Regions from separate parts of the Homo sapiens genome. Here regions 2, 3 and 4 are each linked to region 1. Evidence: promoter capture Hi-C in human tissues and cell types (Jung and others, 2019). All regions are on one chromosome and are shown on one strand. Each heading gives the region's core, a stretch centred on a gene start or on the middle of the fragment in contact. The rest is flanking DNA. Distances are from core to core; before and after follow the strand shown. Region 1 holds the start of TUBB6 (tubulin beta 6 class V). Region 2 holds the start of CHMP1B (charged multivesicular body protein 1B). Region 3 overlaps LOC101927511 (a long non-coding RNA gene). Region 4 overlaps IMPA2 (inositol monophosphatase 2).

Region 1 (7,958 bases), core at 1,459-3,958:
TCTGAGCTGGAGGAGAAAAGAACCACCCACAAGAGTTACTTTCAGGTTTCTAAAGTAATTGACTTCCCCGTTTCAAGTCCCACCAGTTCTAGCTGCCTGGAATGGATCAACCAGGGTCTTTTCAGAAAGGGTACAGGAACTTTCTTAGAATCACAGAATTGGCTGGGCGCACTGGCTCATCCCTGTAATCTCAGCACATTGGGAGGCTGAGGTGGGCAGATCGCTTGAGCCCAGGAGTTCAAGACCAGCCTGGGCAACAGAGCAAAACCCTGTTTCTAAAAACAAACAAACAAAAAACCAAGAAAATTAGCTAAGTGTGGTAGTGTGCACCTCTAGTCCTAGCTACTCTGGAAGCTGAGGTGGCAGGATCATCTGAACCCAGGAGGTCAAGACTGCAGTGAGCCATGGTTATGCCACTGTACTCCAGAGTGAGACCTTGTCTTTTTTTTTTTTTTTTTGCGATGGAGTCTCGCTCTGTTGCCCAGGCTGGAATGCAGTGGTGTGATCTCGGCTCACTGCAAGCTCCGCCTCCTGGGTTCATGCCATTCTCCTGCCTCAGCCTCCCAAGTAGCTGGGACCACAGGTGCCCACCACCACGCCCGGCTAATTTTTTTTGTATTTTCAGTAGAGATGGGGTTTCACCGTGTTAGCCAGGATGGTCTCGATCTCCTGACCTTGTGATCTGCCCACCTCGGCCTCCCAAAGTGCTGGGATTACAGGGGTGAGCCACCGTGCCTGGCCGAAACCCTGTCTCTTAAAAAAAAGAAAGAAAAAAAATCCTAGAACCTTAACACTGGAATGAGGAACGAGTCCAGGCATGACCTGGCAGAGGAGGTTCCAGGAAGAGGCAGGATGAGAAATCAAGTCCCCTGACTTCCTGCCTACTGTATTTTCCAGCTCACCCTGACACCTCTTTCCTGTTAGGAAGTTTTACAACTTTAGCTCCATGGAAATAAACTAGGTATTTACAGCAAATTGCCAGGTTTGGATGAAATTCTCTGCTTTGTGACACCTCCCCCATGCATACACATACATGTGCCCATGTGCAGTCTGAGAACCTTGTTACCCGGAGCACGCCACTGGCTGTTTCCCCAGAGTCACTCTCATTTTGAGTCAGAGTGTTCTTGTGTGGAAATTTCATGCCAATTGGGCTAGAACTTGTTCCCGGTGAGGACACGGTTAATATGATTCCAGATAGGACCTGCTCTTCAACTCCTGTCCTGCAGTGCACTCGCCAAGATCGAAAATGGATGTACCCAAGCTGGGTGAGGGATTAACATGAAGTGCAGTGTATACTGGAACTATCCTTAGTGTCCTCTAGAAATTTCATCTTCCATGCCCTGATGTTCCCAGCCTTTTGTCATTGCTGCGTAAATGAATAAAACTCCACTCGTTGCTGAGAACTGCCTGGAGTTTCAGCTTCCAGGGAGGTTAAAGTCTTTTTAGAGGTCTGCAAGGGACCAGAAAAGTCACTTAAGAGAGCGTTTCTCAAATTTTTAGCCAAGAATCCCCAATAAGAGATACGTTTTAAACTGGGGGGGGGGGGGGGGAAGCTTTGTTTTTCCCAAGGATCCTTGAGAAACGCTCTAATTTATTCTAACAGGGTCTCGCTCTGTCACCCAGGCTGGAGTGCAGTGGCGCGATCACAGCTCACTGCAGCCTCGACCTCCTGAGCTCAAGCCCTCAGTTAACTGGTACTACAGGGGTGGGCCACCAAGCCCGGCTAATTTTAAAATTGTTGTAGAGATCGGGGCGGGAGGGGGGCGGGGGGTGGTCTCCTATGCTGCCCAGGCTGGTCCTGAACTCCTGGCCCCAAATGATCCTCCAGTCTCGGCCTCCCAAAGCGCTGGGATTAGAGGCTTGAGCCACCGCGCCCGGCTAGACAGAGAAGGCTGGGCAGGAACCGCTACGTTGATTTCACAACGCTAACGGGTGGTCCCGTTCAAGCGCTCAGACCCTCAGGATAGGCTGAATCGAGCTGTTTGAATAAACTGACGGCGGATTTCCCGCCCCGGAGGAGCGAAGGGAGTGGCCGGGCATCCTGCTACACCCCGAGAGAACTTTTCCCGAAGCAAACTCGCCGCGCTAAGAGGCGGCGCCGGAGCGTCCACGCGGGTCCCGGCCGGGCAGGGCGCGGCGGCCTTGCTACTCACACGATGACTCATTGTAGTAGACGTTGATTCTCTCCAGCTGCAGCGCCGAGTCTCCCACGTAGCCTCCGGCCGGGTCGATGCCGTGCTCATCGCTGATCACTTCCCAAAACTTGGGCAGGGCAAGGCGGGGGGACAGACGCTCAGAACCCAGAGCCCGGGACGCCGCCACCCGCGCCCACCCCAGGCGCCCCGGCGGCCGAATTCCAGGCGCGCCTGAGCCGCCGGCAGCCGCTCCCAGTTGGGATGGGGGTGGGGAGCGAAGAGTAGAAGGTCCCCGGCCGGCCACGCCCCGGGCGCTCCCTCCCTGCGGCCCTCGCGGGTCCGCACCGGGCTCCGAGGACCCAGGGGCGCACAGCGGGTGCGCGCCCCGGCGGGGGTCGCGCCGGGAGACCCGGGGCCCGCCAGCAGCCGACCCGCGGAGAGGCCCTGCACCGCGCCAGGCCCACCTTGGTGCCGATCTGGTTCCCGCACTGGCCCGCCTGGATGTGCACGATCTCCCTCATGGCGGGCGCGGCTCTGCGCTAGGAACTGGCTCTGCGGACGACAGCGGCAACTGCGGGCCGGCTGCGCGCGTCCCGGGGCCGACCCTCCGCGCCCCCGCCCCCGCCCCGCCGCTCGCCAATGGCTGCGGGCCCCGCCCCGCCGCCCCCGCTCGACGCCGCGGCCCGGCCTGCAGCAGCCGAGGGAGGACGCGCGGGCGCCAGTCGGGGGACCCTTGCCGGGAGCCGGGCGGAAAAGGACGGGCCCGGAGCTGGCGGGGAGGAGACGGGAAGGAGCGCGGCGCCCGCCCCCACCACCGTTTCGCTGCCCCTTGTGGTGCCCCGCCAGAGGGAGACGCGAGTCGGGCCCTGGCGTCGGGGCAGCGGAGCCGACGTGGCCCGCGGGGTCCCAGCGCCGCGCCCGGGAGCATTGCAGCCGCCCGCGCCCAGTCCAGCCAAGCCGGGACACTGCCCTGGGGTTCGGCGGTGGAGCTTTTCAGGGTCTCTGCCCCCTGCCCCCCACCCCCCGGTCGCACCCCGGGCACACGTTCTTAGGGCCTCTTCGTCCTGGTGTTTCCGTCTCCGGAGATACAGAGGCCATTCCTCTCCGACGACTCCCACCCCTTTGGAACCGGGTTTAGCTAAAGTGACTACAGGGCTGGATCCGAAAATGAACACCTCCTGCGCCGGGTCTATGCAGCCTACTCCTCGCGCGTTAGCGAAGAAATGCGCTTCGGCCTGGGAGGGCGCGCCAGAGTCCGTCTTCCTGGCCAGTTTTGTGTGGTGGAAAGGAATGACTGCTGATGCCGGCCGGGTGACTTGGATTTTAATTCTAGCTGTTTTCAGTTAGCTCTGCGCTTCAGCGGACTCCTCTGTTAACGGAAAAGGTTATCCTAGGGGAGCCTTTCAGCCTCCAAAATGCGGGATGCTCTGGCCTCTGCAGTCAGAATGTGCATGCATCAGGGCTTTTGCGGAAGTTTCCTCACGTGAACGCTGCAGGCTGGGACCACCGGGGTAGCCTCTGCGTCCCCTCCCAGGCCCGTAGAAACGCCGCACATGAGGAAGCGACGATGTTCTGTAATTTGCACTGGCACTTTCTTTTTAGACAGATGAAAACTTTGGGAAATTCCTAATTGTGTGTGTGCATGTTTGTACGTTTGGAAGGGAGTGGAGAACTTTTAAAAGTTTTTCTTCTGGAGTTTTGCAAATGTTTCCAAATTGAGGAATTTTTTTTTTTAACCCTTGGGTCCCCGCCTCCCCACTGCTCTCTCCACCCCAGTGCTGCTCCTCGGCCTTCTTGTGGGTCCCCACACCTCTTTACACAGCCACACGCCCAGGGAGCAGATGAGGAGGCCACAGCCCAGCCCCTGCGCTCCCATTTCAAACTATGAGCCTGAGATTAATCAGCCACCTTCTCCTGAGTCCTCAACACCCTTATTTAGGCTGTTTGTTTCCATTGCTTAATTATTGACTCCAACGAGTGCTACCTTAACCCATCCTGCCGGCCCGAAGTCTAGTGTGGGGAGCCCGAGAGCGGAGGGCCTGTGCCATCCCTGGAAGAACCCTTCCTCCAGCTTTAGTCTCTCTCTCTAAGAAATCCAGCCATCAAGTGGTTTAAAAGAAAGTGTCTACTTTAGAAGCTTTGGTCGTTTGCTGAAATAGCCACCCTTTCAGTGCTAGCCCTTGGGCTGGAATTTAAGTCCAGGGGTCTGATCGAGCCAGAAAGTAGGTGTCAGCGTGGCTTCCGGAAGTCCGTTGTCACTTGGATTTGACAAGGGACAAGCCGACCTGCTGGTTTCTGGGCTCCTGCTCGCTGTGCGCTCTGCGCTGTCTGCAGGGATTGGTGCCCGCGGAGTGCGCTTTGTCTGGAGAAACTCAGTGCTCGAAGAGTGAGGAGACCGGGAGGAAACCTTCCCCCTGCAAAGCTTATCTCCCTTCCCTCTCATCAGAGGCGGGGCCCCGCAAGACACAAGGGATTTCCCCGCAGAATGAACCAAGGCCTCCCCAGGACATGGGGACAGTTCTGCTGTGCAAAGCCTGAATTCACGTTTCTTTCCTAAAGTGGCTCCCAGTCTCTCTGCAGCCTTGGCCTCTCTTTGAATCCCAACCCTGACTTCCCTGGTGTCTGTTGGCCACTCCCTTCTGGGAGCCGGCAGGTGAAACCCTGACCTGTGAGCCCGGCCTGGGGCTCTCCAGGCTCTGGGCCCCCTACCCTCCCGATCTGTGGCCCTCACTCCTCCTGGGCGAGGCTGTTTGTGACGCGGTGTGTCCAAATGCACACAAGCCGCAAACCAAACTTAAAAAAGCGTAGAGGACACATTCTCTTCTCCTACCTTAAAAAATACACCATGGTATCTGGAAAGCCAGGTTCCAGTTTAGAATTCTCAGGCTAGGCCGGGCACAGTGGTTCACGCCTGTAATCCCAAAACTTCCAAAGCTGACATGGCAGGATTGCTTGAGCCCAGGACCTCGAGACCAGCCTGGGCATTATAGTGAGACCCTTGTCTCTACAAAAAGTTAAAAAATTAGCCAGGCATGGTGGTACATGCCTGTACCCAGCTACTCCAGAGTCTGAGGTGGGAGGATTGATTGCTTGAACCTGGGAGGTGGAGGTTGCTGTGAGCTGTGATCATGTCACTGCACTCCAGCCAGGGTGACAGAGTGAGACCGCGTCTCAATAAAAATAAAATAAAATAAAATAAAAAAGAAATCGGTAGACTTCTTGGGCTCCTCGTTGATTTGCATCAGGGCGTGGAAGTGCGGGGGCTGGTCTCAGCCTGCAGTCCTCACTTTCAACACCCGCCTTTCTCCCCACCTCCAATTCTGTCCCACGCCGAGATGGGTCTCCAGTACATGCCTGTGGACACTTCAGTCCTCAGCCACTCACAGCCATCCCAGGCCACCCTGCGGGAAGAAGGGGCCCTAGGAGTAGGTTTGGGGAGGTCTGGGCAGGGACTCCTGAGGTCCGGGGGGCTGAGGTGCCATCTAGGAGCTGTGGGCTCATCCCAGTGGCCCTGTAGGGAGGGGGCAGGCAAGGACAAGGCCCCTCACCTGGGTCGAAGGCAGTGATGGCGTTCATGACTTGGTGCTCTGGGCGAGCCACATTACCCGTGCACTCCTGTCTGCTCACTTTCCTCCTCCTCTTGCCCGTCTCTTCTGTGCCTTAGATCACAGTCTTGCTTCTCTGAACGCCTCCTTCTGTTTCATGCATGTGTAGAGAGGATTCCGGGCTCACTGCCCAGATTTGAATGCTGGTGTTTACACACACCTGGACCGTAGGAGATGGCTGATGAGTGTTTCTTCCTCTCTCGCCCTTTTCTGGGCTGCACCAAGGAATAAGACAGGAGGGTCTCGTCCTCCCCAAATGCTGAGAAGTCCCTGGGGAAGGGGACCCGGAGGGGCCAATGGGGCTCTTGAACTAGGCTGGTAATGGCCGTGAGTGGTGTTATTTTCAACTAAACCCCCAAATCTGGAAAAATGAATGACATCAGACCCTGGTGTTTTTATGTGACGTTCCTCTTGGTAGATAAAATATGGAGTTTCTCCAGAAAGAAGTGGATATTTCACCTGCCAACTGTGCAGGGAGAGGCAGAGGCCGGGACAAGAAGTGGAGAGTGGGAGGGTGCCATGGGGAGGCTGGGAAGGCTGGGGTGCCCCAGTGTTGACTCTCTCTAGGCCCTGGGAGTTGCCACGTGGACTTCAAGGACTGGAACACACTTCCTGCTCCCCACTGCCTCGCTGGGGAAGGGAACCTGCGGCTCCCAGCAGCAAGCCAGGCAAGCAGGCATCAGTTCTGAGTTAGGCTGAGAATAAGCTCTCCTGCTATCTGGCGCCTTCAGTGAAGCGTTGTCAGAATTTACTCTCTGCAGGTTCTCCCGGAAAGAGCAGCCATGGTCCTCCTGATCTGGTGAGTGGGCACAGGGGCCAGTATCGATGGGCGGATGAATGTAACCATGATCCATGGTGTTCTTAGGTCAGTCGGCCTGAGCAGTCTTGGTTACAAATGGGGGAGTCAAAGTTTATAAAGGCGGCCCGGGGATCTGCTAAACACTAGACTGTGTTTGCGCAGTCAAGTTAAATGTATTCTCTTGGGTTCTAATTCTTTTGCAAAATAATATTTCGTGCTTGCTTTGGCAGCAGTATACTAGAAGTGGAATGATACAGAGAAGATTAACGTGGCCCTGCACAAAGATGACATGCAAATTCATGAAGCGTTTCATATTTATTTATTTATTTATTTTGAGACACAGTTTCACTCTGTCGCTCAGGCTGGAGTGCAGTGGTGCAATCTTGGCTCATTGAAACCTCCGCCTCCCGGGTTCAAGTGATTCTCTTGCCTCAGCCTCCCGAATAGCTGGAATTACAGGCGCACATCACCACACCCAGCTAATTTTTGTATTATTAGTAGAGGCAGGGTTTCACCATGTTGGCCAGGCTGGTCTTGAACTCCTGACCTCAGGTAATCCTCCTGCCTCAGCCTCCCAAAGTGCTGGGATTACAGGTGTGAGCCACAGTGCCTGGCCTAAAAAAAATTTTTTTTTTTTTGAGATGCATTTCATGATCTTGGAAAAAGGACAGAAGTGGATGCCGGTAAGCAAAAACACTGTCACCCAAACAGCTACTGGGTAGACTTTTTACCTACAAAAGTACACGCCCTACTTGGCTGTTGACTTGTCCATTTTCTTTCTTTCTTTTTTTTTTTTTTTAGACGGAGTCTTGCTCTGTGGCCCAGGCTGGAGTGCAGTGGCGTGATCTCGGCTCACTGCAAGCTCCACCTCCCAGGTTCACGCCATTCTCCTGCCTCAGCCTCCGGAGTAGCTGGGACTACAGGCGCCCGCCACCACGTCTGGCTAATTTTTTGTATTTTTAGTGGAGATGGGGTTTCACCGTGTTAGCCAGGATGGTCTCGATCTCCTGACCTCGTGATCTGCCCACCTAAGCCTCCCAAAGTGCTGGGATTACAGGCATGAGCCACTGCACCTGGCCAAAATTTTTTTTTAAAGAAAAATAATATTTCACATAGAGTATTAAAATAATAATATTTGATCAACCAGAGAACCATGCTCACAGGCCAAATGGCTATGAGAGGAGCCTGTTCTAGAGAGTCCCAGGGAGTGCCTGGGACAGGGACAACCCAGCATAGTACAAGGGGCTCTGGGAAGCTGCAAAGTGCGGGGCTGTCAGGTCAGACTGCTGGGGTGGGCCTGACTCTAGAGTCATGTGCTTTATGACGGGCCAGTAGTTCATATGACTGGCCTCGGTGCACCTTGAGACCCTCAGCTGTAACGTGGGGTCCCAGAGCACCCAACGCTGAGGGTGGTGTGTG
Region 2 (7,958 bases), core at 2,925-5,424, 460 kb after region 1:
GCAAGAAACAGCTTTAGTAAGAAAATTCCCCAGCAGCACACACAGTATCATCTGGGTTCCTGAACTGAAATAAACTAAAAGTAGAGGAAAGTATTTTGTGAATTAATCCAGTCTACCTTTTTTCTTTCAATCCTAAATCCATGTTAGAAATTGTGCACTTGAAGGCGGAAAAATGAAAGGAAGAAATATAACTAGTAGTTAAATGGAAGATTAACTAGTTAACTAGTTCCCTGATGTGTTTCAGTTGGATACTTTTGTAAATTATATCCATCTTTGGTGTAGGGAAGTTTCAATGTGAAAAAAAATCTTGTAGTTATGAAGAAACAATTACAGTGAAGAAGCCAGGGGACCGGGCGCGGTGGCTCACGCCTGTAATCCCAGCACTTTGGGAGGCCGAGGCAGGCGGATCACTTGAGGGTCAGGAGTCCGAGACAAGCCTGGCCAACATGGTGAAACCCCGACTCTACTAAAACAACAACAACAACAACAAAAACAAAAATTAGCCAGGTGTGTTGGTGCGCATCTGTAGTCCCAGCTACTCAGGGGGCTGAGGCAGGAGGATCGCTAGAACCTGGGAGGTGGAGGCAGCAGTGAGCCGAGATCGTGGTGGCACTTCAGCCTGGGCGACAGTGAGACTCCGTCTCAAAACAGCAACAACAAAAATAAGCCAGGGATCCTAGAAATATGCAAGAAAAAGCCATACTAACCAAACAAAAATTTAAGTGCTAAGACTGAGGGTGAATTTGGAAAAATATCATGCTTTCTGACCCAAATCTACCTCAGAATTTTTTTTTTTCCTTTTTTTGAGACTGAGTTTCATCCTTGTTGCGCAGGCTAGAGTGCAATGGCGCAATCTTGGCTCACCTCAACCTCCGCCTCCCAGGTTCAAGCAATTCTCCTGCCTCAGCCTCCTGAGTAGCTGAGATTACAGGTGTGCAGCACCACGCCCAGCTAATTTCATATTTTTAGTAGAGGCGGGGTTTCTCCATGTTGGTCAGGCTAGTCTCAAACTCCTGACCTCAGGTGATCTGCCCACCTCAGCCTCCCAAAGTGCTGGGATTACAGGCGTGAGCCACTGTGCCCCGCAATTCTTTTTTCTTAAGTGTTTTTTAAAACAGGATGCACACTCACATCCAATAACATGCAGTTTAAAATGATTTAATTGACAAATTCTTGTGATTTACATTTCAGTAATCAACTGCAAAAGTGAGGAAGTAATTCATGGGCCTGTAGTGCTTTTGAAAATAATATTTATGACTCATAAAAATGTACATTCATAATAGTATGACATGGACATATTTTAAGAAAGTTCAAGCATATACAAGCATTGTTTAATCTCACAAAATATATTAATTTTGTTGGGAATATGTGCATTATAAAAGGGTCTTTAGTTTACCAAAGGGTTCAACACTAAGCTATTTTTAAAGTTGTAATTATTTTTTCCAATCTAAAGAGGGGTTAAGGCCAGGTGCAGTGGCTCATGCCTGTAATCCCAGCACTTTGGGAGGCTGAGGTGGGCGGATCACCTGAGGTCAGGAGTTCAAGACCAGCCTGGCCAACATAGTGAAACCCTGTCTCTACTAAAAATACAAAAAAACTAGCTGGGCATGGTGGTGCACACCTGTAATTCCAGCTACTCGGCAGGCTGAGGCAGGAGAATCACTTGAACCCGGGAGGTGGAGGTTGCAGTGAGCAGAGATCGCGCCACAGCACTCCAGCCTGGGCAACAGAGCGAGACTCTGTCTCAAAAATAAAATAAAAGAGGGGTTAAGACTCATGCTGTCTTCACACATGGCCCTGCACAACCATGTGGAGGACAGGAGGGATATTCTTGAGAGATGCTGGGCAGACAACTAACAAGTGTCCCTTAAAGCACACTTCTGAACAATGTCCAGTCAAATATAAAATAACTTAAATATGAGGGTCACTCCTCATCTGCACGCACCTGTTACACTTTTTTTTTCCTTACTCATTTACACTGGGAAACATGTTATAATAGTGAATAGTTGGTTATGAATCTTTCAAAGAACTTGGAAGGGCCCCTATAATTATTTTCTGAAACAATGGAATTCTCTTATGGAAAAATCTTCCAGTGAAGGAAAGGGTAAGTTAAAAAAAACTTGAATTAACTTAGGTTAGCATGCTTGCCAAGGCAAAAGCAAGTTGCTTTTCTCCATGTTTCGAGGCTATGAGAAAGCGGTGGATACATGCTTTACTTTTCAGCCAGAAAATACGCACTGCCATTCCTGAGAAGATGGCAGGCAGCACAGCTGGGCTCTAGCCTTAAAGACTCAAGCTTTCTCCTTCCTTCCAGTCCTACCTCTTTACTTCTCAGATTTCCAGCTGGCTGGATGTATACATAAATGACTTGCATGGCTAAGTAAAACATTCCAGCTTATATTTTCAAGGATTTCCAAGAGTTCTTGCTTTTGGACAAATTAATAAATGCAAATTAGAACTTAAAACGCAGTTCTAATTTTATTTCTATTTTTGGTTGTTAAAATCAAAACAAAACCTACACACACACAGTCCTAGGGTTTTCTCAAACGAAATCAACAGTTCTTTGGCAATGTTAAGAGTGTGTAACATGACTGCCATGCTAATTAGCATAATTTATAAGACTTCTAATAGTGTTGAAACAGGAAAATAACTATAAACTTGTTAGAGAAGTTCGTTTGAAAGACACTGTCAAATGTCACACTAAGTCTTTTTAAAAACTCAATTTAGTAAGTAGAAAATATAAATGAACAAATTTAATTTTTCCAGATAATAAAGGAAGTTATTCGGCATTTTTCCCAGTTACGCAAAGACAATTATCACGTGAAAAATTTATAGAATGTAAGCAGTAAGAGAGTATTATGCAAAAATATCCTAAGGTAATTTCAGTATAAATTATAGGACCACATTTATTAATAATATACGTTATGAGAACAATCATTTGCAGTCTCACTGTGAAGGCAAAAAAAAAAAAAACAAAAACCAAAACCCAAAGGATAAACAGAAATAGCACAGTCCACCGAATACACTGCATGGTGTTTATAACTGTATAACCAAACTAAGTAATCTTTCCCCTCTCTTTAACTTTTATGCACCACCTGCCATTCTAGATACTATCAATCACACTAAATAATAATAAAAACCAACCACCTTCAATCTGATCATTCTGGGCAGGAAACTGAATACAGTTTTGACCAGATCTTCGAGAAAGATTCATATACACGAAATTAACTAGTTCTGTTAAAAGGCTGCTATAAAAATACCATCATTACGAGCTATACAGAACTTTAGAATCCAGCTAAGAGTGCAGAAATACTGAATTTCTTAATTTATGTGGAGGGGGCTGTAAACCCAAAGGTAGAAGGGCATTTCAGCATTCTGGCGTGTTCAGAGTTTCTAGGGTATAGTATCTCTCTAACACACAGAGAGCATTTCAAAGGGTGGCTATGGCCAGGAAACCTCAGAGCGGGTTCTGCCGTCACACTTGATCCCGAAGGCGGGCCAGTCTCTGAGACAGTTCATCCTGCTCCGCCGAAGCCACGCTCGTGCCCACGGAGCCGGTCTGGCCCTGCGGCAGCTCCATGTTGAGGTCGAGGCCCGCCTCATCTGCCATTTCCTGGAGCAGCATATCCACTTGGTTCTGGGGAGTGGTGAGCGTCGTCGTGCTGCTCATCGTGTCTTCCATTTGCTGCGTCTGGACGTCCAGAGTCTCAAACTGGTGCTCGAATTTGTCCATCAAAGCAGAAATCTTCTCCAGATTCATGGTCTTCAATGTCGCATCCATCGACTTAACCACACCAGCCATCGACTTGGTCACCTTGCCCATCGTCACCGCCGTCTGGACCCTGGCAGCCACTGCATCGACTCGCGCACTCATTCTCAAGAAATTCACCGCCTGGTTCTTCTGGCGGATGGCATTTTCGGCGTGTATCCTCGCAACTTCCATGTTGCCCTTCTGAATGGCCTTTTTAATTTTGGCCTTTTCGGCCTTTTCCTCCTTATCGCATTTTTTGGCACTCCTACTCAGTTCTTTGGCCGCGAACTTCAGGTTGAACAGGTGTTTCTCCATGTTAGACATAGTCGGACGGCTCCTTTGGGTCGGCGGCCCGGCTGAGAAGCGCGCCGAAGGCAGAGAAGGTAAGGTAAGTCCGCTCCCGGCCGCCGCTCCTTTGTTTTGGTCCCACTTCCTGTTTCTACTGTGAGCGGCGCAGGTGGTGACGTCAGAGCCCAGCGCCAAAGGCGGAGCCTGCGGGACGGAAGGCGCCGGGGTGGGGCCTGTGGGACGTAAGACGCCAGGGGCTGCGCATGCAGGGGGATTCTGGCTGGACGCTCCGGCGCTGCGGCGGGGAACGCTCGCTTCCTGCGCTGCGTTCTACCCGGTTTTTAAAATTCTAACGCATTAGTCAATTCACAAAAATTAGTGCCCCCACGCACTTTCCTAGTAATAAATCTACCGAAGTAGACAGGATCTGTGGAGACCCGCGTGTAAAATTACCCACGCTCCAAACTTGGCAGGCTTTATAAAGGGTGACTGGCTAGCGGGCTAAAAACCAGCCAAACATCAGCTAGGTCTTCGCACTAACGCTTGCTTTATTAGCATGGGTAATTTCCACTTTCTCAGGGGAACTGGAAACCATGGATACATTAAAAACAAAAACATTAAAACACATTAAAAACAAACGGGTCATTGACGCGTCTCCATCTTTGACTACAATTTGTGCTAGAGTTCTGTAATATCCTTTTATTGCATTGAGTGAAAATAATCTTCAAAACTGTGGCACCACCAAATTTATACTTTGTCTGGAAGTTCAGCTTCTAGGTGAGTTGCCAGCAATTATCCAAAAATCGTCCCGTGGTTTAGTAATAAAAAGACCCATCTTTTGCTGACACCATTCTGTCTTTTTGATGTTTTATAAATATCCAAGGAACTTCACTCACATTTAAGTTTGACAGGCTAAACTGTCATTTTAAATTATGCAGGCAGAGTATGTTGAGATATCAGGACCCACACCCACGGGCATACATCAAAACTGTCACTATGTATTACGCCCTTTAAAAATGCTGGCTTTCAAATGGCAGCAATGTGTGCTGTCACTTTTCTCTTTAGAAAGATTCCTCCGATACAGCAATAACAATGTGAGAAGACCAAATCTGCCCTAATGAGGTAGGCTGAAAATGAACTCTGAGAGCGAATTCTGTTTAGAGATCATTTTAATCTAGCAGCCTGCCACCTCGCTTAGCTTCCTGTGATAGCTTGCCAGTCAGTTTCACAACACAAGACCTTCTGAAGACATAGCTCTGATGTTTTCACTCTCTTGCTCCAAACCCCGGGCATGGAGGCTAAACCTGCTGTGCAGCATGCTGGCTCGTCTTTCGCGCCCCTCCACCTCCGCCAGTCAAAGCAAACCGCAGCATGGAATTTGAGCATTATTTGCGTCATTCGGCCAGCGGGGAGAATGTGACTGACGCCCGGTCCTGTGGCTATGCTGTTCCTGTTGCCTGGATTTTAGTGTCCATGCATCTCTGCCTATTGACACCCTGCCAGTCCTTCAAAAGCCACCTTCACCATGGAGCCTCCCCAGGACTCCTCCTCTGTGTGGCCATACTACAGGGCACATTGCCTGGCAAGGGGTCTGTGTGTATAGGTCACCTGTTACAGTGTGAACTACTTGGATGCAGACACTGATTCCTTCCCCTCTCCATGGAGCCCAGCAGGCGCTCTGCACACAGCAGCCACTGAATCCAGATGGCGTTGCTGAATTTAATTGTATTTCAGAGGGGATAGGATGTTACCCTAGTTAGCAGCTTAGCTATGGTTCCTTTTTGCCCCGCAAAGCAGTAGAACCCTTTTTCCAAATGAAACTTTTCTAGAAATGGAATATAAACAACCAAAAAAAAGGGGAAGAAATCTGTTCAAAGTGGATATAGAGAGCTTAGGCCCCCTACTCTGCTCACCCTCCATTCCACTCTTCCCTTCTTTTAGGTCCTGGTTTTTCTTGGAGTTTGCAAACAAGTTTCTTATCCAGCTTCCATGTCATGCTCCATAGTTTTCTTTTTTCTTTTCTTTCTTTTTTTTTTTTTTTTTTTTGAGATGAAATCTTGCTTTGTCACTCAGGCTGGAGTGCAGTAGTGTGATCTTGGCTCACTGCAGCCTCCCCCTTCTGGGTTCACGCGATTCTCCTGCCTCAGTCTCCCGAGTAGCTGAGATTACAGGCACACGCCAGCACTACCGGCTAATTTTTGTATTTTCAGTACAGCTGGGGTTTCGCCATGTTGGTCAGGCTGGCCTCGAACTCCTGACCTCAGTTGATCTGCCCACCTTGGCATTCCAAAGTGCTGGGATTATAGGCGTGGGCCACCGTGCCCAGCCCATAGTTTTCTTAATGACAAATTCTGACTAGGTGAGATGGTTTGGAATATAATCATGAGAGACTCCGATAGATGATGATGATAATGACAACTAACATTAATAAAGTACTTATGCACCAGACATTGTTCTGGGCACTTTACATAAATTAACTCATTTCAGCTTCGCAAACCCTATGAAGTAGATACTATAAATGTCTCCAGTTCACAGGTAATGAAAAGGAAGCACAGAGAGCTAAGAAACTTGCCTGAACCCACACATTAGGTAAGTGTTAGAAACCGGATTCCATGGATGTATTGGGACCAGTAATAAGGCAATGGGGAATCCAATGAACATGAATTAATAAGAATAAAATAATGATCATCATGTAGCCTAAAGAAAGAAGTTGACTTTCCAGCTGTTTTTTTGAGAAGACAGAGTTGCATTGACTGCAAAGTTAATATGAACTTTATAAAGTGTGGTTGTTGACTGGGCATGGTGGCTCAGGAATGTAATCCTAGCACTTTGGGGGGCTGAGGTGGGTGGATCGCTTGAGGCCAGGGGTTCAAGACCAGCCTGGCCAACATGGGGAAAGCCCGTCTCTACTAAAAATACAAAAATTAGCTGGGTGTGGTGGTGCATGCCTGTAATCCCAGCCACTTGGAAGGCTGAGACAGGAGAATCGCTTGAACTGGAAAGGTGGAGGTTGCAGTGAGCTGAGATCACGCCAGTGCACTACAGCCTGGGTGACAGAGAGAGACTCCTTCTCAAAAAAAAAAAAAGAAAAGAAAAAAAAAGAAAAAGTATGGTTGCTAAAAGAAGTTGCCATCACCTGAAGCTACATTCCTTGGATGATGACACCTCTACTTTCTGTGCTGGAGAGAAGGTATAGGTGGAGTTCCAGAAGCCATCTTCCCAGAGAGACCAGGGCTGACTAGAATTCTGAAGAGAAGGCTGTTCTCCTCCTCTCCCTGACAGTTCCCCAGCCCTGCCCTCTTCTTTCTCTTATCAACACCCCAGCCATTTCCACGGTGTTCAATAGGATCCATAGCTAACTGCTCTCATGTTCACATTTCCACGGAGAGATTTGCTTCTGAGCTCCAAACCCATATGCCCAGCTGTCTCCTTGGTGCTGGGCGCTCTGTGGCCCAAGACTGATTGGCAACTCCTCAAAGTGACTGAACTCAGTCCTTTCCCCCAAATCTGCTCATTCCCATTTACTACTGGCACCTCCATCTACCTTGTCATTCGAGTTGGATTTGGAAGAATTATCTCTGACCACCGTGGTATCTGAATCTGCATCTACCCTGGCTCTAAGTTTTTTCCATTCTTTATATTCCATTGAGGTTGACAACCTTCAGGGTCTGTTTCAGCTTGGTATGCTTTCTCTTTTTGTGTATCTAGCAAAAGGAAGATTATTTTGGGATTATTATTAAAGGAGGTTTTGGTCCTACAACCATGCTAATTGTACGTGAAAATGTTTTGGACCCAATACAGATGTGAAAACAGAACATACAGTTTATAATGACTGGAATTGTTTAGCAACTACCACGTTAACATTGAAACCTTGCAAGTCCCATAGCCAAATTTTCTTAGTGAAAAAAAAAGAAATTTT
Region 3 (7,958 bases), core at 3,046-5,545, 380 kb after region 1:
TGAACTACTTTCATAAACTACAGACCTGCTTCTTTGTAGAGTGAGTTCAAATGATGTCTGGGAAGTGATCAGCACTTGGATCACAGAGGAGTCAGGACTCTCTGTGCTTACTTCCTGCTCACGGAGTTGGGAAGTTTTAGCACTTTCAGTTGTTGCTACATAGACGGAATGTGATTACACCTCTACTCTTGACAGTTTTTAGAGATAATATTGGAGCATCTCTGTGCTAAAATCAAAAGCAATCTTTTTGTCTTATATTTATTTTGTAAAGTTATAAAAATAATTTTAAATACTATCAACTGAGACTATTCGCTCTTCAGAGGAAATTGTTCCAGTTTTTCTTGAAGGTCCTTACTTTATTCTTCTATTTTTCTTTTCCTTTTTTATTTTATTTAATTTTTATTTATTTATTTATTTATTTATTTATTTATTTGAGACGTAGTCTTGCTCTGTCACCCAGGTGGAGTGCAGTGGCGCCATCTCAGCTCACTGCAACCTCTGCCTCTCAGGTTCAAGCGATTCTCCTGCCTCAGCCTCCTGAGTAGCTGGGGCTACAGGCACCTGCCACCACACCCGGCTAATTTTTTGTATTTTTAGTAGAGATGGGGTTTCACCGTGTTAGCCAGGATGGTCTCAATCTCCTGACCTTGTGATTCGCCTGCCTCAGCCTCCCAAACTGCTGGGATTACAGGCATGAGCCACTGCTGGTCTCTCTTCCTTCCTTCCTTTCCTTCCTTCCTTCCTTCCTTCCTTCCTTCCTTCCTTCCTCCCTCTCTCCCTCCATCCCTCCCTCCTTCCCTCCTTCCCTCCTTCCTAGACAGAGTTTTGGTCTTGTTGCCCAGGCTGGAGTGCAGTGGCCCAATCTCAGCTCACTGCAACTTCTGCCTCCCAGGTTCAAGCAATTCTCCTGCCTCAGCCTCCTGAGTAGCCGAGATTACAGGCACTGCCACCACGCCCGGCTAATTTTTGGTATTTTTAGTACAGACAGGGTTTCACCATGTTGGCCAGGCTGGTTTCGAACTCCTGACCTTAGGAGATCCACCCGCCTCGGCCTCCCAAAGTGCTGGGATTGCAGGCATGAGCCACCGCGCCCGGCCCCTTCTGTCTATTTTTCAAAATGATACCTACTATTGTTTGAGCAAGTGTTTTGGCAGCCAGCTATGCTCATATTTTTTGCATTTATTTTGCTAAGGTACAGTCAGTCCATTACACTAGATATTTTTATAATTATACATAATTACTACAACAAATTAAATAAACTAAAACTTTAAAGGCATTAAAACACAAGAGAGTACTTTCTCTGAATTAGTGGTGATGGCAATAGTAAAGAAACAGGCTGGCCGGGAGTGGTGGCTCACGCCTGTAATCCCCGCACTTTGGGAGACAGAGGCAGGCGGATCACGAGATCAGGAGATCAAGACCATCCTGGCTAACACGGTGAAACCCCGTCTCTACTAAAAATACAAAAAATTAGCCAGGCTTGGTGGCGGGCGCCTGTAGTCCCAGCTACTCAGGAGGCTGAGGCAGGAGAATGGCGTGAATCCGGGAGGCGGAGCTTGCAGTGAGCCGAGATCGCACCACTGCACTCCAGCCTGGGCGACAGAGCGAGACTCCGTCTCAAAAAAGATAGAAAGAAAGAAACAGGCTGGGTGCGGTGGCTCTCACCAGCACTTTGGGAGGCTGAGGTGGGTGGATGGCTTGAACCCAGGAGTTTGAGACCAGCTGGGGCAACATGGTGAAACCCTGTGTCTACAGGGGACACAAAAAAATTAGCCAGGCATGATGGTGTGCACCTGTAGTCCCGGCTACTCAGGATGCTGAGGTGGGGGGGGATTGCTTGAGCCTGAGAGGTTGAGGCTACAGTGAGCTGAGATCATGCCACTGCACTCCAGCCTGAGTGATGGAGTGAGACCCTGTCACACACACACACACACACACACACACACACACACACACACAATTGTAGAGAAATATAAAGAATCTTGGAGGTTTTCAAATTTTTCTTCTGAAATTTGAGTGGTTGGCCAGGCGTGGTGGCTTATGCCTGTAATTGCAACACTGTGGGAGGGCAAGCCGGGTGGATCACCTGAGGTCAGGAGTTCAAGACCAGCCTGGCCAACATGGCGAAACCCTGTCTCTACTAAAAATACAAAAAAAGTAGCCAGGCATGGTGGCACATATCTGTATTTCTAGCTACTCAGAAGGCTGAGGCAGGAGAATCACTTGAACCCGGGAGGCGGAGGTTGCAGTGAGCCGAGATCGCACCACTGCCCTCCAGCCTGGGCAACAGAGTGAGACTCTGTCTCAAAAAAAAAAAAAAAAAAGAAAAGAAAATTTCAGTGGTTGACATGTTATAATAATATACATTGACACAAAGGCTGGGTAGTGTATTAGTCAAAAGTCACAAGTACCAGTTCTCACCCTTACTAGCTGTTGTGACCTTGGATAGTTTACTTAACCCTTCTAAGCTTTAGTAAGTGCTCAATAAATGTTAACCTAAACTGGAAGCAGGCTGGGCACAGTGGCTCATGCCTGTAACTCCAGCACTTTGGGAGGCCAGTTCAGGAGGAAGGCTTGAACCCAGGAGTTCAAGACCAGCCTGGGCAACATAGTGAGACTCTGTGTCTACAAAAAATTCTAAAAAATTAGCTAAATGTGGTGACGCATTTCTGTAATCACAGTGCTTTGAGAGGCAGAGGTAGGAGGATCACTTGAGCCCAGGAGGTTGAGGCTGCAGTGAGCTATGATCGTGCCACTGCCTTCCAGCCCAAGTGCCAGAGGAAGACACTGTCTCAAAACAAACAAACAAACAAACAAAAAACAAATTAGCTTCAGGTTCCCTTCCCCTCTTGTAATATGTATTGCAGTAACCAGCCTCTCCATAGCATAACCGATGATCCCAGCCTCCTGATATTCATGCCCTGTGTAGCTCCCTCCCATACTTTATCAGAGTTGGTCTGTGTGGCCAGTAGAATATTGTAGAAGTAATGTGTGTCACTTCTGAGATGGGGCTATAAAAGCCTGTGGCTTCTGCCAGCTTGGGGAGACGTTCATGCTGCCAATGGAGAGGCCCACTTGGCAAGAAGTCCGTTCCGGAGCAGCAAGGTACCCAGCCAGCAGCTGGGGGGAACTGCGACATCCCAACAACCATGCGGATGAGCACGGCGGCAGGGCCTCCAGACAACCATGAGGCTGAGCACGGCGGCGTGGCCTCCCGACAACCATGTGGATGAGCGTGGCGGCAGGGCCTCCAGGCCCAGGTGGCTGCAGCCTGGCTGACAGCTTAGCTGCGACCTCAGGAAAGACCTGCACCAGGTGCCCCAGCTAAGCCACTTCTGAATTCCAAACACTCAGAAGCTGTGAGATAACAGAGGTTTGCTAATACATGTGCCAATAATTCACATATCAACGCATCTGTGATCCTTACTCTCCTCTGGAGAAAATAGCCCTTTTTTTTTTTTTTTTTTTTTTTGAGACAGAGTCCTGCACTGTTGCCCGGGCTGGAGTGCAGTGGCACAATCTCAGCCCACTGCAAACTCCACTTACCAGGTTCAAGCGATTCTCCTGCCTCAGCCTCCCAAGTAGCTGGGATTACAGGTGCCCGCCACCACGCCCAGCTAATTTTTTATATTTTTAGTAGAGACAGTGTTTCACTATGTTAGCCAGGCTGGTCTCTAACTCCTGACCTCGTGATCCACCCACCTCGGCCTCCCAAAGTGCTGGGATTACAGGCATGAGCCACCACGCCTGGCCGCCCTTCTTTATTTAAAGCTGGGTTATTTCATCTAAGACATGCATTGCAGTGAGTCTGACCCTAGGCGATGTGCATCCTTTTTTTTCTTTCTTAATGTGCCTTAAATAGTGGTTCATCTTACAGTTCATGATGTCTTAGATTTGAGGAAATAGTAAATCATATCATAGTTACATGATCAAACTTTTTTTCCTTCTGAACCATATTTCCTCACGCTGTCAAAATTTTTGTATTTGGAATGAATGACTGGGTATCTGTAACAAAGATGCATAGGCACATTTGACACTTAGAGGGATTTCAGCGTTTACTGACCGATTGTGAAACGACATTATCATTGTGCAGTTTTTCTACATTGAAGAAACCTACATATTTATAGGTTTTCATTCACCATTCCTGACTCTCCCTTATAATATCCTTTATTACAGTCTTTTGTTATAATGTTGAGTTTTTGTTTGTTTGTTTGTTTGTTTTTGAGACAGAGTCTTGCTCTGTCACCTGGGCTGGAGTGTAGTGGTGCCATCTTGGCTCACTGCAACCTCCGCCTCTCAGGTTCAAGCGATTCTCCTGCCTCAGCCTTTGGAGTAGCTGGGATTACAGGCATGAGCCACCATACCTGGCTAATTTTTGTATTTTTTGTAGAGATGGGGTTTCACCATATTGGCCAGGCTAGTCTCAAACTCTTGACCTCAAGTGATCTGCCCGCCTCGGCTTCCCAAAATGCTGAGATTACAGGCATGAGCCACCATGCCTGGCCTTATAATGTTGAGTCTTTAGGCCTCAGAAGCAGGCCTCGGGAAACAGAATCTCTCTGAATTTCTCCTGCCCAAGGCGGGACTCGATTCTGATTGTGGGTCATAAGACCCTCATTGCAGACAGGGTCCTGTCCCACACCCTAGAGGAAGGAATGCTCCGCGGAGAGGGCAAGAAAGACCTGAACAGCTGAGCCTTGCTGGGTTTCTCAGTCTGTTACTATTAGATCATTCCCCTTTTGTCCAATCGCATTTCTGCACAGTTGTCCTCAATCACACCTATTCAATAATGTCTCCATAAAAGGCTCAAGAGGACTGGGTTCTGAGAGTTTCCAGATCGCTGAACATGTGGTGGTTCCTGAAGGGTGGTGGCCCTGGGGAGGGCATGGAAGCTCCACGTCCCTTCCCACATGCCTTGCCCTATGCAGCTCTTCATCTGTATCCTTTGCAATATCCTTTACTATAAACCAGTGAACATAAGGAAAGTGTTTCCTTGAGTTTTGTGAGCCCTCCTAACAAATCAATTAAACCCACGGAGGGGGTTGTGGGAACCCCAATTCATATCTGGTCTGCCAGAAGCACAGGTTACAGCCTGGGGCTTTTGATTGACATCAGAAGTGGGACAGTCCTGGGGACCGAGGCCTCAACCTGTGGGATCTGATGCTGTCTCCAGGTACAGAGTGTCAGAACTGAGTTGAATTGGAGGACACCCAGGGGGTGTCCATGCAGAACTACTTGCTTGCTTGGTGTGTGGGGAATCCGCCTCCCCACATTTGCTCACAGAAGACTTCTGTGATGATTGTTCTTGAGCAAGAGAATCGGAAAAGCACTTGGAACAAATGTGTTTTTTCCACCCAGAGACTGTTTACAAATCACCTGAGCGTGCAGTGACTTTATGCTCATGGCTTATAAATTCCATCCACCAATCACTGATAGGCTGGTCATTTAAATCACAGGACTGAATGCAGCTTGGGGGAGGATGTCTCCATCTGTGCCCCTCTCCCACATCCCAAATAGCTGTCAGTGTCAGGAGTGGTACAAGGTGAGAGGGGGAAGGGGGAGGAGGACAGGAGTAGAAATGAGGTGCTTCAGAATTTCCCCATCGTAACCAGAGGGCAGTTTGGTAGCAGGGGAAGTGTGGGTATCTAGAATCAGACTCCTTTATCAGGGCATGGTGGCACACGCCTGTAGTCCCAGCTACTTGGGAGGCTGAGGTGGGAGGATTGCTTGAGCCTAGGAAATAGAGGCTACAGTGACTGTGATCACACCACTGCACTCCAGCCTGGAAGACAGAGTGAGACCCTGTCTCAAAAACAACAACAAATTAAAAAAAAAACAGAATTAGACTCTTGCATGTTTATGTAAAACTAATGCAGATCATGATTATTTTCATAATGCATTTACTGGGTCTTGGAATTATGGCATCTATTAATTACAGAGCATGATCTAACAGAACAATCACAGCTCCATTTTCTCTCCCCTCCCTCCCTCCCTTCCTTCCTTGACAAAGTCTTGCTCTGTTGCCCAGGCTGGAGTGCAGTGGCGTGATCTTGGCTCACTGCAATCTCTGCCTCCCGGGTTCAAGCAATTCTCCTGCCTCAGCTTCCCGAGTAGCTGGGAATAATCACGTGCCACCATGCCCGGCTAATTTTTTTGTATTTTCAGTAGAGATGGGGTATCACCATGTTGGCCAGGTTGGTCTCAAACTCCTGACCTCAAGTGATCCGCCTGCCTCAGCCTCCCAAAGTGCTAGGATTACAGGTGTGAGCCACCATGCCTGGCCTATATCATTATTATTTCTGCTTTGTGAATGCCTCACAGATTCCTCCCAATATTCATGGAAGTAAATTCCTTAACGGTCTCAGAAGGGCCGTGCAAGTCAATGAGTCACTTGCAGATTATCATCTGGAAATGATCCGGTGTCTTAGAACTTTCACTACTGGCCGGGCGCAGTGGCTCACGCCTGTAATCCCAGCACTTTGGGAGGCTGAGGCGTGTGGATCACCTAAGGTTAGGAGTTCGAGACCAGCTTGACCAACATGGTGAAACTCCATCTCTACTAAAAATACAAAAAATTAGCCAGGCATGGTGGCGCATGTCTGTAATCCCAGCTACTCAGGAGGCTGAGACAGGAGAATTGCTTGAACCCAGGAGTCGGAGTTTGCAGTGAGCCAAGCTCATGCCACTGCACTCCAGCCTGGGCAACAGGCGAGACTCTGTCTCAAAATAAAAAAAAAACTTTCACCACAGGGAGTTTTTCTTTTAGTGATTCTTGGTAGGCATTTGAACTGGTCCTTTCACTTTGAGATTCTTTTCCTTTGCCCCTCTGATCAAGTCAGCACACACCTTCTCCAGGGATTTTACCTTGCTGCTCCTTAGAGTGATTCTAATTGGTGAATTGGCACCTCTGGCTCCATGGGTGTGTTTTAGTATCTTTAAAATCCGTGGCTGCCAGGCACGGTGGTTCACACCTGTAATCCCAGCACTTTGGGAGGCCGAGGTGGGCAGATCACCTGAGGTCGGGAGTTTGAGACCAGCCTGGCCAACATGGAGAAACCCCGTCTCTACTAAAAATACAAAATTAGCCAGATGTGGTGGCGGGCGTCTGTAATCCCAGCTACTCGGGAGGCTAAGGCAGGAGAATTGCTTGAACCCGGGAGGCGGAGCTTGCAGTGAGCCGAGATCGCGCCATTGCACTCCAGCCTGGGCAACATAGTGAGACTCCGTCTCAAAAAAAGAAAAAAGAAATCTGTGGCTGCTGCGCGGTTTCCTGGCCGACTTGTTTCTGTGCGAGAGCGAACAGTGGTGAGTGAGGAGCAGGAGAGGGCAGACCACAGCCCACACTGCCCTAAACGGCATCTTCCTCCAAGAGCTCCCTTTCTATTTTGTCTCCATTGCCCTGAGAAGGTAACTTTGGTTACGGTCTTTTGTTTGTTTTTTTGTTTTTAGATGGAGTTTGGCTCTTGTCGCCCAGGCTGGAGTGCAATGGTGCGATCTCAGCTCACCGCAACCTCCACCTTCCGGGTTCACGTGATTCTCCTGCTTCAGCCTCCCAAGTAGCTGGGATTACAGGTGCCCACCATCTCGCCCGGCTAATTTTTTATTTTTAGTAGAAACGGCAGTTTCACTATGTTGGTCAGGCTGGTCTCGAACTCCCAACCTCAGGTGATCCGCCTGCCTCGGCCTCCCAAAGTGCTGGGATTACAGGCGTGAGCCACGGCGCCCAGCCTGATTATGGTCGTTTAATCAGCCCTGCAATCCCCACTCCATAATGCCACCCTGCCAAGCTTCCTGAGCTGCTATCTTTAATGTTAGATGCTGGGGCAGGCAGAATAGTGCCCCTCAGATAGTCATGTCCAACTCCCCAGGCCCTGCCAATGTGTTACCTTTCATGGCAAAGGGGAATCAGGGTTGTAGATGGAACTGATATTGCTGTGGAATAACAAGAAAGATATTTG
Region 4 (7,958 bases), core at 1,026-3,525, 310 kb after region 1:
GGACCAGTTCTGGTCCAGCCCAGGCCTTTCTTCTCCTTTTTGTTTTGTTTTGTTTTGCTTTGTTTTGTTTTACAGACTGGGTCTCTCTGTCACCCAGGCCGAAGTGTGGTGTCACAATCACAGCTCACAGTAACCTCTAACCCCAGGGCTCAAGTGATCCTCCCACCTCAGCCTCCCCAATAGCTAGGACTACAGGCACATGGTACTGCACCCAGCTCATTTTTTATTTTTTGAAGAGACAGGGTCTTGCTATGCTAGCCAGGCAGATCTCAAACTCCTGGGCTCAAGCGATCCTCCCACTGCTGCCTCCAAAAGTGCTGGGATAACAGGCGTAAGCCACCGCGCCCAGCTCTTGCCCATTTCTGTCTGTCTTAACAACTTGGTGTCTCCCTCATCATGATGACAAAGTCAGGGCACCTAAAAACGAACTCAGAGCCTTCTTCCTAAACTAGCTACATCCCAGAATCCTGTATTTCTCTCAAAAGGACCATCAATTGGCCAGGTGCCCGGACGTGACATCCATCACGTCTTCTGATAAGCACACACCAAGGACCCGCTCATGCCAGGCCCTGTGCTGCCAGAAGAAGCACACGGGGAATTCTACAGAACAGGCAGGAGCCCCCGAAACTCAGCCTCCCATGTGCTCCTCCCCATACGGGGCTGCCTGCTCTTCTCACTGCCTACATCCCAGAGCTGGCCCACGCTGTACTGAGCCAAGGCAGTTTTTGTTTTAATCTTGGTTGCAAAAAAAACAGATATATGTTATAGAAAATTCAGAATGTGATAGGTCATACCAAAAAAAGCATACAGCGTCCACATAGCCATGTCCACTGGGTAGCCATAACTCCAGGACTTCATATTCCTATGACAGCCTCCAGCTCCCACTGCCCAGGCCCTGCCTCTGGCCAGGGTTTCCTAGTTCCTGCTCATTGCCACCAGGTCAATTTTCTCAAATCACCAATTTGCACACAGGACTCTCAACAAATCAAGCTCCACAGGCCTTGTCTGTGAATCTCACACTCCTCACATGTGGCTCCCGTAGCATCTGCCCATGGTCCAGGACCCTCAACCCTGAGCTGGCCAGACAGGCCTTCGGCACAAAGCTTGTCTCATGTATGGCCACGGTGATTCCTGATGTGTGTGTGTCTCTGTTGTGTACCTGTAAGTGTGTGTTCATGTGGTATGGGGGGAGTCAGGGTGTGTGTCTCTGTGTGTATCTCTGTGTGTGTGTGTGTGTTGCTGTGGTGTGAGAGGATGCAGGGTGTGTCTGTATGTCTATCTCTGGGTGTGTGTGTATCGGTGTGGTGTGGGAAGATGCAGGGTATGTGTGTCTCTGTGTGTATCTCTGGGTGTGTATGGATTTCTGGGTGTGTGTGTGTGTTGGTGTGGTGTGGGGTTGTGGGGAGTGTGTGCATAGAGCTGGGGTGAGAAAGGCAGCCTAACCAGGGGACACAGCCCCAGAGAGGATATGGCAGCAGAGCCTCTGGGATCATCAAGGAAGGGCAGACTGTGCTGCACAGGTCTGACTGGGGTCTGAGAGCTGCATTTCTGGTAAGCTCTATGGTGACCCTGATGCAGGGGTGCTCACTTCAGTAGCATGGAGCTAGAGCAGAGTCTCAAACTCCCACGTGAAGAGAGCCACTAGGAGACCAGGATGTTCCACCTCAGCGGGCGGGGTGGGCAGGTGGTGGTGGGTTCTGAACCCAGGACCACCATCTGAGAAGACAGTGGCTTTACTTCATGCTTGTGGCATCCCCACATGGGGAGCAGCCATAAAGCTACCTGCAAGGGTGGCTGGTATTCCACTCGTCCACACTTGCAGCCTCTACGCAGCAGCTGGATGGGGAATTTTCAGACACCAATTACATCACATCACTGTACTGCAGAAAATGATCCAACGGCTTCCCGCTGCTCACAGAACACATCCCAAACCCCAGGGCCCTTGGGAAACTCCAAATCCCAAATCCCAGGGCGAGCCCTTCACAGCTCACCTCCGACAGGTCAGCCCCAAGTTGCTCTCCTGCTGTGCTCTGGGGTTTTCTCACTGATCCTAACCAAATCTGTTTCTGCCCCCAAGGACTTCCTGTTTTCTGATCCTTCTACAACTTACCATATCCCATCTGAAACCATCCTTCCTGTCGGTTTTGTTTTTGACTGTCTCTCCCAGGCAGGAGCTCAGAGGGCAGAGCTCTTTCTACTTCCCTTCGTCCTTCCTGTCTGTTTTGTTGTTGACTGTTTGTCTCTCCTAGGCAGAGGCTTCTGAGGGCAGAGCTCTTTCTGCTTCCCTTCTGTACCCCTAGCATCAGGAATGCTCCCTGGCATTCAGCAGATACACATACAGCAGGTACACAGAGTTCTTTGAAAGAATGAATAAAACACACATTGGGCTGCTTGAATAGACTGTAACATTTTTCCAAACGGGAACACTAGTGTCTGTGTGAGTGCTGACCACCCAGGTCCTTCTGTCTGGCTGTTTTTCTGGTTGCCCTGTTGAAAAGATCCAGTGCTTCCATCCACAAGTCCCACCTCCTGGAGCTAGACCAGATCTGCTTCCTGCACTCAGACCCACTCTCCCGGCACAGCCAGACGCACTTCCTAAAACATGGTCACGGTGACCATGCGTCTCCCCAGCAGAGCACTTGGTGGCGCCCTGTCACTATGTGGATAAAGTCAAAACCCCTGAAGGGAGCATAAAATAGCTTCCAGATTTGCCCTTGTAGCAGAGACCATTTGACCCCAAACGTCCAGTCTCCCCTTCTTCCTTTTAGGAACAGAACCTCCAAGTTGGAGCAAGCACAGAGCTGCCTTGCAATCTGCACACCACGCGGATACGTGTGGCCTCAGCACCAAGTTCTGCCCCAGAGGATGGGACTGAAAGCAAGACCTGCAACTTCCGAGTCACATCCTCAAAAGGATACTGCCTTGCACTTCCTCGTGTCCCATTCCCCCTCACCACAGGCTACAAAGTAGGTGTGGTGCTGCCCATGCAGGAAGAAACACCTCGGAGCAATGAGGGAGGACAAAGCTGGATCCCTGGATGACTTTGTGGAGCAGACCACCCCACCCCATACCTCTTACTAACTAGACTTCCCCTGCTCCTCTTACTGGCCTCTGTGAAGAAACCAAACAAACCATCCACTCAGCAGCTGCGGGCCTTTCCCGACCCCTTTCTCAGCTCCCCTCCCCTCCCCTCCGAGCTCTGAGAATGCCATGGCCCTGTCACATGGAATCATTAACCCTGGAGTCTCCTGATGGAACCGCCTCAGCCAGCCCACTGTCCTCCTCCTTCATGACTCAGTTCAAACATCACCTTCCACATGAGGAGCCTCCAGCTTCTGCGGGCAGAGGGGCACTCACCCAACTGTGACTACAGCACTTACACAAGCCACCAACTGGCACCCACAGCACTTATCACTCCATGTGTCTGCTCAACCAGCCTGGGTAAGGAACCCTACCCTCTCTGTCTCTGTCCACCTCCAACAGGCCATGGTGCACCCTGCATGGGGGCTGCCTCATGGGGGTCTCCAGGAACACCTGCTGAGTGAATGCATAAAGAGTCCTTGGCTGCTGCACACTGAGCTCACAGTTAACTAAATGCTAGAAGATTTTGTAATATGTCCTTTTGTGTCACCTTATCGAAGCTCACTGGTATTTATACACTCAGTTTTCCACATTCAAAACATACACAGCTGTGTGTGTGGAGGAGGCGGGTGCTGGGGGCCCTTGGGGCAGCTTGGAGAATGCTGCAATCTGGGTGTGTCCGCCAGGAAAACAGGGCCGAGTCATGGGTTACAGAGTGGGAAGAGTGGATTCAGAGGCAGGATGCTGTGTTGTGTTATGCTCTGTTGTTATTTTTCTCTTGAGACAGGGTCTCTCTCTGTTGCCCCAGATGGAGTGCAGTAGCGCAATCTTGGCTCACTGTAGTCTTGACCTCCTGAACTCAAGCAATCCTCCCGCCTCAGCCTCCCCAGTAGCTGCAACTACAAGCACGCACCACCACACCCGGATCATTTTTATTTTTATTTTGTAGAGCTGAGGTCTCACAATATTGCCAAGGCTGGTCTCAAACTCCAGGCCTCAAGTGATCCTCCCGCCTCGGCCTCCCAAAGTGCTGGGATTAAGACGTGAGCCACTACACCTAGCCTTCATAATCTTTTAAAATATTAACTGTTTTCTGCTTTTATTAATATTTATTATTGCAGTTTCTCTGATGACTTTCTTTGTGAGTGTGTCATAAGGAAGGCCATGGGGCTCGAACATGCCTGTACCTCCTACCAGCAGGGCAGGTGACCCTGTGGCCAGCCTCTTCCACTAGACCTGGCCTCACAATCGGGCTGCTGTCTTGCATCAGGTGTGCAAGGCCCTTCACACCCAGCCAGGGCAGCATGCCCCATGCCAGGCTCAAGCCCCCTCGAGTGTCCTCCCTCCTGTACCTCCATGTCTTTGGACACGATCCCTTGTGCCTGCAATGACATCCCTGGCCACCTTCTGCCTGTCTGTGCTCTCAGCCTCCATCTACTCCAGCACAGCTGCTCCAGGAGGTCGCCCGTGTGGCCGTCCGCCCACTGCCCTGGCTGAGGCCCCTCTTCCTGGGTCAGCTACTGCACAGTCCACTGTACTTGGTCACTGCCCTGTCTCCTCCACTGGGCCATGCACTCCTCCAGGTTGGGAGCTCTGCATTTCATCCCAGTAGCTCCAGGAACTACCCTCACCCCGGCAGGGTGCTGATGCCAGCGACATGCACCCATATACACCAGATAGGGCTCTATCAGGTGTACTCGGGGGCCTTGCACACATGGGGGCTGCGCCAGCTAGCTTCCTTCAGTCACCAACAGACAATGACACTAAGCTAACCTAAAAAAAGTCAGAAGCCTTGTCCTGTAGCTCTTCATGAAGATGGGTATGAAAAATTCCCTTCCAGGATGTAATTCTTGTTTTCAGCAGTTTCATAACATCAGTGGGAGTAGAGAGGGATAAAGTACACTCCAGAATCAGACAGCTCTAAATTCAAATTCTATATGGGTTCTCATGGCCTTCATTTCCTCTTCTGTAATAACAGTGTATCTAACACATTGGGTTGTTTTAGGAATCACATGAGGTATTGTATGAAAAGGTCTTGGTCCACAAACTTATTTACACACAGAACCTCACCAGTATCAGTTGTGAGAACATGTATCTGAGAAAATCTAATGACTTTTTCAGCTAATTTTTGTATTGTTACAAAAAATAAGAACCTACCGTACATACAATGTACACGTTGCAAATAGGATGCTAAAATACTAGGTTAAGAAAAGTTTAATTCACGAATTGTCCTATGCTAAGAGAAAAAGTGAGGAAAAGTGCTGTATTTCTAAAATCAGTAAGCGAGACTCAAACAGCCCTGCCCTTTAGCCAGGATCACGTCCACAGGGCGAGGGAGCACATGGGGTTGCCAGGTAAGGTCCCGCTGAACCCCTTTACCACGGCTATTTTCCCTCAGTCTTAGAGATTTTAAACACTCTCACTCCACCAGCAATGAGTTAGGTATCCTGGTTTTTAATTAATGTTTTTCAGCTACTCGCTAACTAAGCATGCACTTCACAGACCCCCCTGGCTCGGGTCTCTCCTTCCAGTAGCATTCTGTTAATGTATAACATATAAAATATGGGCCTGAAGTCACTGAAGCCTGAATTTCAAATCTAAAAGGAAAGGTCACCATCAACCAGCTTCAGAGACATCCTAGGCTAACATATTCATGGAGACGTCCAACTATCTTTCCTGTCTCACCCCATCTTGTTCTTGTGCTCCTGTCCCCATCCGACCTTTATGCCAGTCACTGCAGGGCAGCTGGCATGTGCTCTGGAACCCAGGCCCTGTGCATCATCCACAGAGCAGCACGCCGGAGCCTTGCCAGAGTGCAGTTTCAATAGGAGATGTGTCTTTCCCTCTGTCAGGTCAGGAAGATGTGGCCACTGGAGGTGTGCACCTGACGACACGCCCCATGTTTATGCTTCCAGATTTACTGCAACACAAGTGAATGTGTTGTGATGGTTAATTTTATGTGTCAACTTGACTGAGCTACGTGGAGCGCAGATACTTGGTCAGACATTGTTCTGGGCTAGGCGTGGTGGCTCATGCCTGTAATCCCAGCACTGGGAGGCCGAGGCAGGCAGATCACCTGAAGTCAGGAGTTCGAGACCAGCCTGGCCAACATGGGGAAACCCTGTCTCTACTAAAAATACAAAAATTAGGTGGGTGTGCTGGCACACGCCTATAATCCCAGCTACTCAGGGGGCTGAGGTAGGAGAAACGCGTGAGCCCAGGAGGTGGAGGTTGCGGTGAGCCAAGATTACGCCACTGCACTCCATCCTGGGAGACAGAGCAAGGCTCCATCTCAAAAAAAAAAAAAAATTGTTCTGGGTGTTTCTGCGAGGGCATCAGCATCTTAATCAGGAAAGTAGATCCCTCTCCTTCCTGTGGGCAGGCCTTGTCCAACAGCTGAGGGCCCAAACAGAATGAAAAGGCTGACCCTCCCCCAAGTAAGAGGGGGTTCTCCGCAAATGGCCTTGGGACTCTGTCCACATGAACAACTCTTCCTGCCCTATGGCCTTCAAACTGGAACATCAGCTGTCTCTCCGCGTCTCCAGCTGCCAGCCCACCCTGCAGACTGGACCCACCCACCTCCTGCCGGTCCTGTTTCTCTGAAGAACCTGATACGTGTGACAATCAATAAAACCTAACAGTTCATCGGGTACCCAGGTAATAACACGCCTATCACATGGTGTCATGTGGCACATGTGGTCAGCAGTTCACAGCTGTTGATGCGTCACAAATCTCTGTACAACCTCAACCCTGGGAGGAAGAGGAGGAGCTGGTCCAAGCAGACGTGGCTCCCAGGCCAGCCCACCTCAGGCTCTCGAATCCTCAACGCCTCCTTTAGTCTCGTGGCTATTTTTCCCCTCACCTTGATCTCTAGTCGCCCTCCGCCCTGACAAGGCACTGGCACCTTCCATACCAATGCCAGCAGCCACCCGTCACCCACATCCCAGCTGCATTCCCTGTGTTCCAGGGCCCGTGGCCTGTGGCCCCTGCCTCCCCTCGTGGCTTTCCTCCTATCTCCCCACCATTCTGCGGCTCATCTCCCTCCCACTATTCCTTGAAAGTGGGTGTTTGCAAGCCCTCGGACCTGCCTTCAGCAGCTGAGCTTCCTGGAGATGGCCTCCACCTCACACCCTGCCCAGCTCCACGGCCTGAGCTCAAGCTTACAGAGCGCTTCTTCTGCCCCGTGCTGTTCTGAGCAGTTCACATGTACATTTATTCCACACAGTAACTCTGAGGACAGCAAAAATTATTCTCCACGTTAAAGATGAGGAAACGGAGGCAAAAAGAAATGGAGAAAGTTGCCCAAGGCCCTGCAGCTGTAAGGTATAGGGAAGGGGTTCCCAGCACCACAGTCCAAGTCCACCATCGCTAAACAGAGCCGACCCCACGGCTGGAGCCGTCACAATTGATTACTTCCTAATCCCTCTCCAGCTCACATTTCTCTCAAAAGCAATGAGAGCCAGCCAGCTGCATGAGCCAGAAACCCAGAAGTCCTTTATTCCTATGTCTCCTTCAATGTACGACTCATCAAGTCCACCCCAACTCACAGCCCCCAAGGGCCACACCCCATCAGTTCGAGCAGGACACCCACCTGCAATTCTGCCCTCCACACGGGGCCCCCAAGTCCTGACCTCTCCCACCTCAAACTTTAGCCAAAGTGCATTTCTTGGAGGTCCTTGGTGCTATGTTCTCTTTTGCCCCTTCTGCTTTCATCTTCTCTATTGGCCCCGACCCCTCCTCTTCTCTCTCCCCTCCCCAAGCCCATCACCTAACCTTCCTAGCTGACTCCTGCTTTTTTTCTAAAGACACACTCAGCTGTGACTTCTTCCAGGAAGCTGTCCACATCCCAGGTGCTGGGATGGCCTCCCAGTCCGCCT

What was found. The method cuts DNA at HindIII sites, captures the fragments that hold promoters and counts their contacts. A contact is called where the count stands out against the background at its distance.
Region 2: the fragment with the promoter of CHMP1B here is called in contact with the fragment with the promoter of TUBB6 in region 1 in 1 of the 25 tissues and cell types used here (IMR-90 fibroblasts).
Region 3: a contact is called between a fragment that was not itself captured here and the fragment with the promoter of TUBB6 in region 1, in 2 of the 25 tissues and cell types used here (IMR-90 fibroblasts and pancreas).
Region 4: a contact is called between a fragment that was not itself captured here and the fragment with the promoter of TUBB6 in region 1, in 1 of the 25 tissues and cell types used here (pancreas).

The regions. Positions count from the first base shown.
Region 1 is chr18:12,302,991-12,310,948 of GRCh38, reverse strand. TUBB6 (tubulin beta 6 class V) reads right to left here and starts at 2,708. Exons shown (of 4, transcript NM_032525.3): 1 at 2,600-2,708; 2 at 2,154-2,262; 3 at 1-6. The coding sequence starts at 2,656. It also overlaps the pseudogene RNU6-170P. RefSeq lists silencers at 2,173-2,522, 2,543-2,642, 2,733-3,222. The HindIII fragment of the contact is 9,027 bases long and covers 1-7,958 here.
Region 2 is chr18:11,847,629-11,855,586 of GRCh38, reverse strand. CHMP1B (charged multivesicular body protein 1B) reads right to left here and starts at 4,174. Exons shown (of 1, transcript NM_020412.5): 1 at 1,143-4,174. The coding sequence starts at 4,075. The coding sequence ends at 3,476. The region is part of intron 5 of GNAL (G protein subunit alpha L); the gene reads right to left. RefSeq lists a silencer at 3,463-3,757 and enhancers at 3,764-3,813, 4,082-4,321. The HindIII fragment of the contact is 16,832 bases long and covers 1-7,958 here.
Region 3 is chr18:11,927,818-11,935,775 of GRCh38, reverse strand. The region is part of intron 2 of LOC101927511 (a long non-coding RNA gene); the gene reads left to right. Among named protein-coding and RNA genes, the nearest start is that of MPPE1, 23 kb to the right of the region's middle. The HindIII fragment of the contact is 7,294 bases long and covers 649-7,942 here.
Region 4 is chr18:11,990,279-11,998,236 of GRCh38, reverse strand. The region is part of intron 1 of IMPA2 (inositol monophosphatase 2); the gene reads right to left. Among named protein-coding and RNA genes, the nearest start is that of IMPA2, 13 kb to the right of the region's middle. RefSeq lists an enhancer at 2,378-2,427. The HindIII fragment of the contact is 3,794 bases long and covers 379-4,172 here.